5 separate regions of the Homo sapiens genome follow, and all the other regions are linked to region 4. The links are contacts of gene promoters, found by promoter capture Hi-C in blood cells and fetal thymus (Javierre and others, 2016). All regions are on one chromosome and are shown on one strand. Each heading gives the region's core, a stretch centred on a gene start or on the middle of the fragment in contact. The rest is flanking DNA. Distances are from core to core; before and after follow the strand shown. Region 1 overlaps DENND1A (DENN domain containing 1A). Region 2 overlaps DENND1A (DENN domain containing 1A). Region 3 overlaps DENND1A (DENN domain containing 1A). Region 4 holds the start of LHX2 (LIM homeobox 2). Region 5 overlaps DENND1A (DENN domain containing 1A).

Region 1 (2,700 bases), core at 180-2,679, 310 kb after region 4:
GCATCCTTTTCTTTCAGCTTAAGGAACTCCCTTTGGCACTGCTTGTAAGACAGGTCTGGTGATAGTGAACTCCCTTATCTTTTGTTTGTCTGGAAAAATCTTTCTCTCTCCTTCATTTCTGTAGGACAGATTTGCTGGGTACAGTATTCTTGGTTGACAGTATTTTTCCTTCAGCACTATAAATATATCATCGCAGTCTTTCCTGGCTTATAATGTTTATTCTCAGAAGTTTGCTGCTGGGTGTCTTGGAACTCTCTTATATATTATTTGCTTCTTTTGTCTTGCTGCTTTCAGGATTTTCTCTTTGTCTTTGATCTTTGACAGTTTGATTAGATTCTATCTTGGGGTAGTCTTATTTGAATTGAATCTGATTGGAGGCTTTTGACCTTTCTGTACCTGGATATTTGTATCTTTCTGTAGGTTTGGTATATTTTTTGCTATTATTTATTTAAATAAGCTTTCCTACCTCTTTATCTTTCTCTACCCCTTCTTGAATACCAGCAACTCATACATTTGCTCTTTTGATGCCATTCCGTAAATCTCATAAGCTTTCTTCGTTCCTTTTTTTTCCTTTTTTATCCTCTGATTGTATATTTTCAAATAACCTGTCTTTGACTTCACAGATTTTTTTCCTTCTGCTTAATCAGGTCTGCTATTGATTTTCTCTATTGCGTTTTTATTTATTTATTTATTTTTGTATTTTTCAACTCCTGAAAAATGTTTTTAAAAATTATTTTAGGCTCTGTTAAATTTCTAATTCTGGTCACTTATTATGTTTCTCATTTCATTGAATTGTTTATTGAGCACCTTTAAAATAGCTATTTTGGATTCTCTATCAGGCAGTACATACATCTTTGTCTCTTTATGGTCAGTCACTAGTACCTCATTTTGTCTGTTTAGTGACAACGTGTTTCCCTGATCCTTGTAGTCATGCATTGACCTTCTGTACATTGAAGAAGTAGGTACTTATTCCAGTCTTTGTAAGCTTTTGTGGCTTTGTTTTGGAACCTCCTTCAAAAGTAAGCCTGTTCAGAGTTTCTAGGCAGGTTGTCTGGTCTGGTCCCTAATCCTCAGATTGCTGTAGCTGTGGTAGCTTAGCATGCTAAGCCCATGGCTACCAAGGCTGGTACAGCACTGGGATATACCTGAAGCTCTTGGCTGCTGAGAGCCTGCCTGTTGCTGTGGGTTATTCATAGCCTAAGGCCACTGTAGTCAGCTGGCAGTGATGCAGGCCAGAACTCAAATCTGTGTTATAGGGGCTGCAGGTCTCTGGTGCTGGGGTGGGTCTAGAAGCTCAGTTCACAGGTGTCGGCCTGGAGTTAGAGGCCCTAGAGGTCTGCCTGATGCTGGGTTTTATGGTGGCAGGCTCAGTATTGGGGACCTAGACAAAGTCTTAGACTTATTTCTCTTTCCCCCAGGCAGATGATATCTCTTTCCACTGCCTGAGGTAAGGGGAGGGATGACATGGGTAATGCAAAATTGTCCTTTCTACCCTCTTTGATGTGTCTTTCTTATTATTGTGCTATAACCAGGCACTATGATCTGTTACATGGTTTCTTTAGCTCTTGTGAGGGTATTTTGAACTGTTTAAATTGATGTTTCTGTGTGGGGATAATCCCTGGAGAGTTCATTTCTGCCATTTTGCTCTACCTTCTATCAATTTTTACTTCTGAGTTCATGCTTTTTGTGTTCTGTGAAATCTCTGCATAACTTAAGAGCACAGAGATTTTCCCCTATATTGTCTTATAGACATTTTGTAGGTTTATCTCTTATACTTAGGTCTTCAGTCCATTTCTATAAATTTTTGTATGTAGTGTGAGGTAAGGAAATTGGTATTAAAATTGTAAGTTCAAATTAATAAAACAGAAGCTTTTATAATAGCATCAAAATATGAAATACCAAGGGATACATTGAACAAAATATTTGCCTGACCTGTGCACTGAAAATACAAAACATTGCTGAGATACATTTTTTTAAAAAGATCTAAATAGATATACCAGGCTGATGGATTCAAGGATTCCATGTTGTCAAGATGTTATGATGGTTAATCTTGTGTGTCAGCTTGTCTAGGCTATGGTACCTAATTATTTGGTCAAACACTAGTATAGATGGTACTGTGAAGGTATTTTAAATCTAACTAACATTTATAATCATTGACTTTTAGTAAAGGAGATCACCCTCCATAATGTTGGTGGTCCTCATCCAATCAGTTTAAAGCCTTCAGAGCAGAAACTGAGGTTTTCCAGAGAAGAAGGAATTCTGCTTCAAGACTGTAATTTAAAAATCCTTCCTGAGTTCCCAGCTTGCTGGCCTGCCCTACAAATTTTGGACTCAGGACTGCAACATCAGTTGTTACCTGAGTTTCCAGCCCACTGGCCTGTCCTATAGATTTCAAACTTGCCTCAACCAGTTACTTAACATAAATCTCTTTATACACACACACACGCATGCATACAATAGTCTATTCTGTTTCTCTGGAGGACTGTTACTGATACAGATGTCAGTTCTCCCCAAATTGATCTATAGAGTCAATGCAATAATACCACCAGGCCTTTTTTTCCTTCAGAATTGGGCAAGCTGATTCTAAAATCTGTATGAAGATTTTTGTGGCAAAGAACTTAGGCAAAATAACTTTTTAAAAGAAGAATAAAGTTGGAGGACACATATTACCTGATCTCCAGTTTTATTGTAGAGCTACAG
Region 2 (2,700 bases), core at 29-2,528, 280 kb after region 4:
GTTTTCTTATTCCCATGAATGTGTTTGAGATGCATGATCAGAGGGATTACAGAAGTTTTAGTGCAGTCTTGCTAATGCATGGCAGTATTTCTAAAAAAAATGTAATTGTATCTTATTATCAGCATTGTCATCACTTTTAGATAGGACATTAAATATGAGGCCTCATTTATTCCTTAAAATATAGGAACAGTGACTCTATGCTGTTCTCTTACCTTCCCTAACAGCTCTCCTGAGGAAGCTAAGACACAGGGCAAGGGACTTTTTCCTTGTGACATCATAGCATGACCTGGCCTGGAATTCTGATGTAGTAAGGAAAGAACCACTAAGTTGGCAGAGAGACCCTCAATCTAGACTCCGCCCGGAGCCTGTTGGACTCTGACTTTGGGTATGATTCTGGGCTTCTCTCCTTCCAGAAAATGGAAATGATAACATTAGCCCTTCTGAGCTTACAACATAGCTCTTACAGGTCATGTGTTCTCATACACTGACTTGAAGACCTTCTTTTGTTTATTTGTACCTTTAGCCTTGATAAAGACAAAACTGCTATTGGTGTGTATAGTTACTATAAGGATTTTTAGTTCTCATTAGAACTACTTATCCAGCTATGAGTACATTGGTAGAGAAGGTGCAGTCTAACTAGCTAGCTTCAGTGATTTTTCTTTTTTCTTTTTTTGGAGACAGGGCCTTACTCTGTCACCCAGGATGGAGTGCAGTGGCAGTGGCACAATCTCGGCTCACTGCAACCTCTGCCTCCCAGGTTCAAGCAATTCTCCCACCACAGCCTCCCGAGTAGCTGGGACTACAGGTGTACACCATCATGCCCGGCTAATTTTTGTATTTTTGGAAGAGACAGGGTTTCACCATGTTGGCCAGGCTGGTCTTGAACTCCTGACTTCAAGTGATCCACCCATCTTGGCCTCCCAAAGTGCTGGGATTATAGGTGTGAGCCACCACGCCCAGCCAAGCTTCAGTATTTTTTTCTAAAAGGTGACTGTTGTTTTGGGAATTCAGAATTCTTGATTAACAATAAAAACTTTTAAAAAAGGAAACATCTCACCACTTACTGTTTTGTTACTCATGAGAGGACAATTTCTAGAATATCAGGCAAATACTGAGTGTGGTATGTGTCACGGACGACCTGAGGAAATCATGATGCTGGCTTTTTTGACTAGGACTTCAGAGATCATGGGAGCATCGGGAAGTCTCTGCAAGTGAGTGCAGAGAGTGTGAGCTGTGGAGTCAGAGGGGTTTGCATTTGCTTACCAGCTCTTGCCCACTTATGATCTTCTTACCTAACATCTTGCAACTTATTTTTGTCATCTTTGACATTCAGAGATAAGGACTCACCTCAAAGGGTTGCGAGAGAGAGAGAGTGTACAAATTATTCAGCAGAGTGTCTGATATATAGTGGGGACTCCATGAACTCGTTCCTTCCTGGATGAGCTGGTTTAGAACATCTAGAAATGGTCATAGTGGAAATAGGGGTATTTTAATTTTTATCACCTGGTTAATATTGGGAAGTTCACTGAGCCTTTAGATAGATGTGCCCTTTGATATCTTCCTTGATTTTCTTGGGGGGAGAAAAGCTTAGAATATAAACTCAGAAGGTTCAAATCCCATCTCCTCTTTTCCCAGCAACATCTCCATGAGCATCTCCAACTTTTCTGGCTTCTCCTTCTCCATCTACGTAATGAGAGCAATCATAAGTCCTTGGAGGATTGTAGCGAGGATCAAATCATAACGTATGATGCTGCCTGGTAGTAGTAACTGGTTCCTACACAAGTTTTACCTAGTGACAACTTGAAAGCTAACACGGCTTTTTTTAAAAAATAAAAAAAATTATTTTCCCAAGCCCTCTCTTGGGATGTGCTCATGTGAGAGGATGAGGCAGAAACTTGCTGTAATACACACCCATCATATGTCTAGAACCAAGTGCCCTGAACATTCACGTGCATTCTCTCCTCCACTCTTCACAGCAGTCCCGCAGAGGAAGAATTATCCTCGTCTTACAGAAGAGGAAAAGGAACCTTAGAGAATCATTATTAGCTGATATTGTCAGTATTTGAACCTAGCTCTGTTTGACTCTGAAGTCCATGTTCCTCCCATTCTTTTGTCTTGCCCCCATCCCAAACTTGGTGCCTTATTTGACTTAGGCTAAGGAAACGTGTATTGTTATTTGGTGTCTGTAGGTGTCCTATACTCCACTGCAGACACTGAGGATGCAGTGATCCCCGAGACATGCACTTTCCCCACTTTCACATGGCCCAGGATCTGAAGGCAGACATATAATTAAACAATTAGTTGCAATATTGAACTCTGATAAAGAAAGTTAAATTATTATGTAAATGAGTAGTCATCTGTGTATTTTAAACAGGCAATTTCCTCTGAATAGGTGACTTCTGTTGGTTTCAGGGTATCACATAATCTTAAAGTAGTTCTCCTTTTGGGGTGAATGTAACATCCTGTATTTCCATAACTTATCTTGCTAAAATATGAATAAAAACTTAATAATGACTCTGCCTCTACATAAAAAAATAAAAATGTTACCTGGGCTTGGTGGCAGACATCTGTAGTCTCAGCTACTTGGGAGACTGAGGTGGGAGGATCACTTGAGTCCAGGAGTTCGAGGCTACAGTGAACTATGAACTATGTGCCTCTCTGTACTCTAGCCTGGGCAGCAGAGTGAGACTGTCTTGAAAA
Region 3 (2,700 bases), core at 22-2,521, 290 kb after region 4:
TCATGCCTGGGGAGGCCTCACAATCATGGTGGAAGGTCAAAGGCACTTCTTACATGGCGGCAGGCAAGAGAGAGAATGAGAACCAAGCAAAAGGGGTTTCCCCTTATAAAACTGTCAGATCTCGTGAGACTTATTCACTACCACGAGAACAGTATGGGGGAAACTGCCCCTGTGATTCAGTTATCTCCCACCGGGTCCATCCCACAACATGTGGGAATTATGGGAGCTACATTTCAAAATGAGATTTGGGTGAGGACACAGCCAAACCATATTACCACTTGTACAGAGCTTAGCAAGTTGTGGACACTCTGGGTGTAGTCCTTTGTTACTGTTGTCTGGGCTTGCCTTTGAAAAGAACATTGTCCCAACAGAGTCTGTAGTTCCAATGGCAGTTCAGTTTGAGTCCCAAATTTTGATGAGTCTTAATGTTCCTGCAGCCAAGAGAGTCCAGAAGAGAATCGTTCCAGTGTTCTTCTGGACCTGGATCTCATATGAGTAACAAAATGCAAGCATACAATCCTCACTGTGAATCTACAGGAGGCTGTTGTTTCAACTGACTTAAGAAATTTCACTGAGTATGGAAAGGATGTCAGAACTTTAGCCAGAGCTGCAACTATAATCACATTATTTTGCTGCTGCTCAGTGGAGCTAAGAAAGCTTAAGAGTATTACCATCTGGGCAAAGCTAGGCAATGGTGAACTGTGAACTGCTTACCAACTTAACAGAAACTCTTGCTACCTCATTCATTAATTAGGCCTTTATGGCACACCTTCTTTTGGTTGCTTGGCAACCATAATAGCAGTCATTAAATTCTGTCATTTTGTATTAACCCTTTGGCCCTGGGTGGATTGGGAGCCCCCACCTTAACACTAATGCATTTTACATTAGTACGTCTACCTGGGAAATCCCATTCCCTTGACACTTCAGCTATAAAGAGCAAATAGCCAGAGTCCAAAATAGAAAAAGTTCTTTTTTTCTTCACATTAGTGTATGTGCTTTTAAGGCTTTACAAAATGTATCTGTCAGGATGGAGGCCATTTCCCAATTTGCTGACAGACAGACATAACATACACCCAGCAAGATGAAAAGACAGCTAGTTTCCCAGAAAACAGGAGCTGACTGTGACTTCTGTGGGCTTATGGAGGAAGGAGGTGGTGTGAAAACCAGATGGGAGAGTTGTTAAGAGTTGTATGTTTCCAAAATTGCCTTTGTAGCTCCTTTGCAAAAATTTGGACCATGCATGCTGGAGGGATAGGGGGCTATTCCAACTACACACTGTTTAGCATTTCAGCAACTGATTAGAGTGGTAGGGAACAAACTGTGTACTCTGGCAAAGTCTGTGAGGAAATGCAGTGGACACAGGGCAACCTCTGGGAGACTGTCAAGGGCTCCTATGATGCTCTGCCCACTAGGTTACATAAATGTGAACAAGATATAAAAGCCTTACATTAAAATAGGGCTTAGGAATTTAAACTGGAGGTATATCCTCTTTTCTATAATGAGCTAAAATGATTTGAGACTTGTGTAGTATAATTAGAATAATTCCATTTCTCAGAAATATTAATTTTTCTCTTAGTGGAAGAAAACAGGAAGTACGTTAGGTTTTGGCATCAGACAAACCTAGGTTGGAATCCTTACTCTACCCAGTAACTGTGTAATCTTGTACAGTTGCCTTTCTTTTTTATCTCTCTTTCCTTATCTGTAAAGTGGGGATAATCATTCCCCTTCAGAGTATTGTTATAAGGATTAAATGAGTCACATACATTATACGTATCTCCTAGTTAAGGCATGGCCCATGGTATAGACCCCATTCATTCTTTCAACAAACAGGACTGCAGTGGTGATCAAGAACCTCTCCACTCTCATGATTTTACAGTCAAGCTTAGTGTCAGATCCTCTTTGTCCCTCAGTTTACTAATGACGCCCAGAGAGGCTGTCACTTGCCAACTATCTGACCAGATCTGATAGTAGTATCTGGGTTGCCTGGCCACCGGGTCTCTCAAATAAATTTTATATGTAATACTGCTAAGTTTCCTAGGCGCGGTGTGACTATGTATTTACTATTTCTCAGTATATTTTGGGTGGTAACTTTAGAAGGCAAAAGGAAAAGTAAAAAGTAACCACAATTAACTAGTCCAAGTTATTAGTATCAAACTTAAAAACTAGATTAGTCATTTGCACTTAACGGTTCATGTGGTTATAGTAAGGTGGGCCCTGCTAAAAATGTTGGCATTGTTTATTGAGGAGTTTAAATAAAAATTTACTCCCCTTGCCTCTGCCCCGTCAAGCATGTACGTGATACTCACAGCATCTGGGATTTAAAGTGGCTACTGTTTGTTAAAAAAGCAGTAACTTCCCTGAAGGAGTTTTGTGAGTTAGGAGAAGTCACAAAGGCAATTAATTTTGTTCTTCAGAGCAGTACCTCCACTGCATTCGTTTGTACTTTTTGCAAGCTTAAATTATAACCCAGGAGCCAGCCGTACCATGATCCGATTTGATATTTAGTTTTATTTTATTAGTAGTTGTCTTTAATGGATGTCTTGTCATGTAGGTTTCCTGATTATTAGTAATTTAAATTGACTCTGAGAATGAAAGGAAACCACAGGCATGAAACTGATGGACTGTGACTACAGCGGTCTTCCAGCTTTCAAGGCAGCTGTGATGGCTCTGCAGGCTCCCTTGGTTCCCCCCTCCTTCGTC
Region 4 (2,700 bases), core at 164-2,663:
TCTGGGCCCGCTGGTCGGGCAGTGTCTGCTCGTCTGGCCCCCAGGGAGGCCTGAGGCGAGGAACTGGCTATTTGGGGCTGGGCCCGCGGAGCCAGGTGTAGAGATCCAAATGGAGTCTCCTTCGGCGAGGGCCAGGCCGGAGCCTGAACTCCCAGCCCTGGCCTGGCTAAGTCTGACCAGTCAAGGGTCTGGGGACGCGATCAACGACAAATGTTGGCCCCGAAGACTTCGGCCTCTGAAACTGCGCTGGGGGTTGAGGAGGATCCCCGATTGCCGGAAAGCTGGGAGCGGCCCAAGCCGGCTGGAGCCCCAATGCTCCCAGCTGGTTCGCCCTTCCCTGGCGCCGCTCGCGGCGCCGCCAGCAACCGGAGCCGAGAGGTGGAGGAGAGCGCGGGGCTGTCGACCCCGGCACCGGGCAAGGTGAGAAGGGAGCCGCCCCGGGCCGCGGATGGGACTTCGCTTCCAGTTCGGAAGAAACGCTCTCCTCTACCCCCAGGGCCGAGATTTCGGTTTCAACCTTGTTTCCCTTCTGCGTCCCAGCAGCCGGGTTTCCCCCGAACCGGGAGCCACCGGCCTTGCATTCTGACCGAGGATCCCCAGCACCCAGTCCCGTGCGGCACGAAGGACGCTCCCCAAACTTCGGGGAGCAGAGGCGCTGACTGGCCCGGCCCCATCCCAGCTCTCAGCCCCGACCCCACAGCCGCGCGCCTACCGTCTCGGTGTCGCCGCGGTCGATGGCGGAGCTGATGGCGGGAGCCTCGCTCTTGGCCCTGCGGTCCATCTCGTCGATGACCCCGTGCACCTCGGGGCCCGACAGACTGTGGAACAGCATCGCGGCGGGACCGGCGGGGCCGGGGGCGCGGCTCCTCCGAGGGAGGGCTTGCCCCCCGCCTCAGCTGCCTGGCGCTCCTGGCGCTAACGGGCCCGGTGCATCGCCACCGCGGCCCCGGCCCCGCCCGAGCTCGGCTGAGCCCCCAGGCCGGGCTCCGGGCCCCGGGCGCTCGCGGGGCAGGACGCCTCCCGCCGAGGCGCAGGGGCAGCTACATTGCGGGGCGCCTGGGCGACGGCGCCAAAGCCAGGGTCACAAGGGCACGGGACAAGCGGGGCGGGGGGAGCAGGAGACTAGGACAGAGGTCGGCGCCCGCCGCGGGCGCTTTCACGCCGCGGGCATCGCCCGCCCGGCTTCAGCGCCCGGGGCGCAAAGCAAGGGCGCAAACTCTGCCCGAGGCGGCGACGGCTGCGGTCGGGGTTCACCCTGAAGCCGCTAGGTGTCCGCGGCGGCCCAGCTGCCTGGACCCCTCCCCTCCCTGGGGTGCGCCCCCAGCCCAAGGCGACCCTCTTGGGCGCTGAGTCGGCGACTGGAGTAGGGGTTTCTCCGAAGCCTGCGAGCCGAGTCGAGCCACCGGGAGAATTGAAGAGGAGGAGGAAGAGGAGGAGGAGGAGGCGGAGGAGGAGGTGGAGGAGGAGAAAAAAGAGGAGGAGCAGAGTGGGAGGAGGAGCCGCCGGCCGCGGGCCCAGCCGCGCGCAATGCTCTCCAAGCGCGCGCCTAGCCCAGCCCCGGCTCTGCAGTCCGCGCCAGCGCAAGCCTCCGCGCCTTTTCTACAGCCGCGCCTGACATCACGTCCTGCCGCCGTGCCATTGGCCGCTCGGCGCCCCAGGCCCTGGCAGCGCGTGCTCCGGGAAGGCGGGAGACCCAAGAGGGAGGGGAGAGGCAAGAGGAGCAGAGGAGAGTCGAGATGGTGGGAGCTGGTGGGCGAGGCTGGAGGGCGGGGGTGGGGGGGAGGCAGGGAGGAGGGAGAGCGCGGGGTTTGGAGTTTTTAAGATACGAACAGCTTCCTGCGATATCTTCAGAAAGGAAAATTAAACCCTCTATCCTAAGAAGGCGCAGCAAGGGGATGCTCGTCTCACTGCGGTCTCCCCTCGGCCTGGAGCCGCGGCCTCAGGCACCCGCCTGGGAGGCCCGGGAAGGCAGGCCTGTGGCAGAGTTGCAAGAGCCTTCGGCCGGCCGTTTCCCATCGAGCTCCGCCTTCGGCCCGGGCTCTGCACAGCGGGCTGCAGGCGGCCGTGCAAGCCTCCTGGGTACCCGGCAGAGCCTGAGTGGCGAGACCGGCGAGAGCTGTGACTCCCGGGGAGGGGGGCCAGCCAGCATATCCACGCTCCAAGCCCGCTAGGGCCCAATCTGCAGCCCAGCGTGTAGCTTCTCGCTCTTCCCGGTCTCTCCCCAGCCTGGAAGAGTGGGGGCGAGCATGGCTTTAGGAACTCAGAAAGGCCAGGGTTCGAATCCTAGCTCTGCCATTTACATGCACTGTAACCTTAGGCAGTGACTTATCCTCCCTTAGCCTGTTTCTGACCTTTATAATGGGCGACAAGAAGCTCTCCTCCGCATGGACGTGTTGATTGAAAGAGACTGTGGATGTAAAATGCCTGGAACATAGTAGGCACTTAGCAAATTATTTCATTACTCTCTCTTGCTCCTTTTCCATTAAAAACTTTCTCACTCCAAGACACATTCGATATCAGTGAGGTTCTTAAAAACCACAGGCCTATTCTCTGCCCACTGGGCACACCATGTCTCAGACCCCGCTGATGGCGCGAGTCCTCCTTACCCGCCTGGCTGCACCACCTCCCCAGGGGCCAACAAAGTAGCGTGCTGGGTAAATCCCAACTGCTACCCCCAGCCTCCAGGTTTCAGGCTCACCC
Region 5 (2,700 bases), core at 148-2,647, 360 kb after region 4:
AGGGGTGGAAAAAAGCTAGTTAAAACACTGCTTTGTCACAACTTGCTGCTGTTTGTCTTCAATTTTTTTTCCCCTTTTGAGTGAAATACCTGGAAATTGTAAATGTTCGAAATTGCCTTAATTCCAGCTGAGCCGTTTTAGCAAATGTAAACTGTGAAGGAGGGGATACCAGCAGTGATGACGGGAGAGGAGCTCGCCTGGCCTTCGTGGGTGGCATCTCCTGCACAGAAACAGGCTCAGTGCCAGAAGCATTTTGGTCCCTGGGTACTTTCTTTTGCTTAGGCGTATGGCACAGCACATCGGGAAGGTTCTAGGATCTGGGGCCCAAAGATTTGAGCAGCAGTCCTGTCTTCATTGCTTATTAGACTGTTCCATCTTGGAGAATCTCTTTGAGTCTTGGTTTCCTCATTTGTAAGATATGTAGAATTCCTGTTCTGCTCACCTTTAGGAACTGACCTAAGTGCTGGATGCGACCTCATGTTGTAATCACCACACAAAGATGTAATTGCTCAGGCTCCTTCCTCTGTAAGGTGTCTTCCAACTTTACCCTTCATGATTTTACACATGTGGGGATTTGGCCTCCCAGGTAGAAAGAAAAGGACAGGGAAAGAACAGAGTATACTTTCTGATTATTTTATGTTTCTTATGCTCTTATTAGATACAGTTATAATAAGAACAAAGAAAATCAGCCACAAACCGTGCCTTCTTCTTTCTCCTAGAGAAATCTGACAGAATATTTTGTGGCTGTGGATGTTAACAACATGTTGCATCTGTACGCCAGTATGCTGTACGAACGCCGGATACTCATCATTTGCAGCAAACTCAGCACTGTGAGTAGACAGTCTTAAGACTGGCTTTTTAATGATCTAATTTTAATTGAAAGATACACCAGCAAGATGAAAGAAAATTTTAGAAAAAGGAGTCAGCTACAGTCCCCTTATATGGCAGCATGTCATTTTCATTAATTGTTCATTTTTTTTTTTTTACAGTGCCAATGCACATTTCATTTATTCCTGTAGTCGCACAGTCAATTATAAATAGCTTTCCATTTGATTGTGTGTTATGAACATTTTGCAGGTTTCTACATGAGCTTCAATTGTCATTTTTTAATGTCTACACCATATTTCATGATACGGGTGTGTCATTATTTACTAAATCCTTCTCTTGATGGCCATTTAGGTTGTTCATTATGATTTAATCCTTTTAGTAGATAATACTGCAATGAACATCTTTTGGCTTCTTTTGACTGTTACAGTTATATTCTAAGGAGTGGGACACTAGGTCAAAGGGCTTGATAAGCGCTATGACTTAGGGACTGCCAAATTGCTTTGCAAACAGGCGGTGCTTGTTTACAGTGAAGGCTGCCAGCTGTAGATGAGTGCACCATTTTCACCGCAGCTTTGCCAGGAAAGAGAGAGAGTGTGTGTGTGCGCGCATGTGCGCACGTGTGTACGTGCATGTGCTCAGGTGTTTTAATTCTGCTAAGAAAGTAGATGTGCTATGGTATTTCAGGCTTGCTTTAATTTTAGAATTACCTCTTTGGTTAGAGGTAACTGAATATTTTCCATGGGTTTATTTTTTTATTTGTATTTTGTTAATATCCTTTCACATTTATTTTATAGGTGTCTTGATTTTTTTATTAATTATAATGAACTTTCTATATAACTTTTGCTGTGTGTATAATATAAATATTTTTATATTCCTTTTATTTTAGTTTTTCACTTGCTAAGTATGAGTTCACATTTTCCCCAATATTTTTTATGAAAATTCTTAAGCCATTATAGAAAGCTGAAATAATTTTACAGTGAATGCTGATATACTTCCATCTAAATTCTACTAGTGACATTGTATCAGTTGCTTTATCATGTATTTATTCAACTATTTATCATCCATAGCATCCATTAATCCATCTTTTTTTTTTTTTTTTTTTTTTTTTGAGACAGAGTCTTACTCTGTCACCCAGGCTGGAGTTCAGTGGCACTATCTCGGCTCACTGCAACCTCCACCTCCCAGGTACAAGTAATTCTCTTGCTTCAGTCACCCAAGTAGTTGGGGTTACAGGCACATACCACCTCACCCAGCTAATTTTTGTATTTTTAGTAGAGATGGGGTTTTGCCATGTTGACCAGGCTGGTCTCGAACTCTTGACCTCAAGTGATCCACCCACCTCAGCCTCCCAAAGTGCTGGGATTACAGGTGATCCATCTTATTTTTTATGCATTTCAAAGTAAATCACAGGCGTCACTTTACTTTCCCCTAAATAATTCAATATCTGTTTGCTGAGTTTGTTGTTGTTTTTGTTTGTAGACAAAACTTATATACAGAAATTGACTGGGAGTAGAATGCCTAATAGGCATCCCTCTGTTAGAGAGAGTAGAAAAATATTTTTATAAGTGGAGAGTTCCCTAATGAAGGGCCTATGGATAAAATCAAGTTATGTGTTTACTTATGAATAAAAGGCACCTAATAATGAAAACTCTCTGAGACTACTAGAGTTTTCCTTACAGTTTTTATTATACCTTCATTATTTTATTATTTCTTTGGTTATTGATTGCTCATCAAGAACTCAGTTTTTTTTAATTGCCTAGTATGTGTTAAGAATAGCCTATAGTAGACCTCTTGCTTTGTTTTACATTTTATTTTACACCATACGTGCAGTTCATAATTTCAGGGCACAAACACCCAGACTGAGTTTCAGAA

The links. Contacts are between HindIII fragments. The CHiCAGO score rates a contact against its expected background, and 5 or more counts as called.
Region 1: a fragment that was not itself captured here is called in contact with the fragment with the promoter of LHX2 in region 4 in 5 of 17 cell types (monocytes, M1 macrophages, megakaryocytes and 2 more); the score reaches 7.6 in monocytes.
Region 2: a fragment that was not itself captured here is called in contact with the fragment with the promoter of LHX2 in region 4 in 4 of 17 cell types (M0 macrophages, M1 macrophages, M2 macrophages and 1 more); the score reaches 8.3 in M0 macrophages.
Region 3: a contact is called between a fragment that was not itself captured here and the fragment with the promoter of LHX2 in region 4, in 2 of 17 cell types (M0 macrophages and M1 macrophages). The highest score is 7.4, in M0 macrophages.
Region 5: a fragment that was not itself captured here is called in contact with the fragment with the promoter of LHX2 in region 4 in 1 of 17 cell types (monocytes); the score reaches 5.7 in monocytes.

The regions. Positions count from the first base shown.
Region 1 is chr9:123,700,141-123,702,840 of GRCh38, reverse strand. All of the region lies in intron 5 of DENND1A (DENN domain containing 1A), which reads left to right. Among named protein-coding and RNA genes, the nearest start is that of MIR7150, 220 kb to the right of the region's middle. The HindIII fragment of the contact is 884 bases long and covers 988-1,871 here.
Region 2 is chr9:123,733,979-123,736,678 of GRCh38, reverse strand. All of the region lies in intron 5 of DENND1A (DENN domain containing 1A), which reads left to right. Among named protein-coding and RNA genes, the nearest start is that of DENND1A, 190 kb to the left of the region's middle. The HindIII fragment of the contact is 621 bases long and covers 968-1,588 here.
Region 3 is chr9:123,716,415-123,719,114 of GRCh38, reverse strand. All of the region lies in intron 5 of DENND1A (DENN domain containing 1A), which reads left to right. Among named protein-coding and RNA genes, the nearest start is that of DENND1A, 210 kb to the left of the region's middle. The HindIII fragment of the contact is 1,224 bases long and covers 660-1,883 here.
Region 4 is chr9:124,010,481-124,013,180 of GRCh38, reverse strand. LHX2 (LIM homeobox 2) reads right to left here and starts at 1,413. Exons shown (of 5, transcript NM_004789.4): 1 at 713-1,413. The coding sequence starts at 832. RefSeq lists an enhancer at 1-501 and a silencer at 1,440-1,489. The HindIII fragment of the contact is 7,434 bases long and covers 1-2,700 here.
Region 5 is chr9:123,650,143-123,652,842 of GRCh38, reverse strand. It overlaps DENND1A (DENN domain containing 1A), which reads left to right. Exons shown (of 24, transcript NM_001352964.2): 9 at 720-830. Among named protein-coding and RNA genes, the nearest start is that of MIR7150, 170 kb to the right of the region's middle. The HindIII fragment of the contact is 4,820 bases long and covers 1-2,700 here.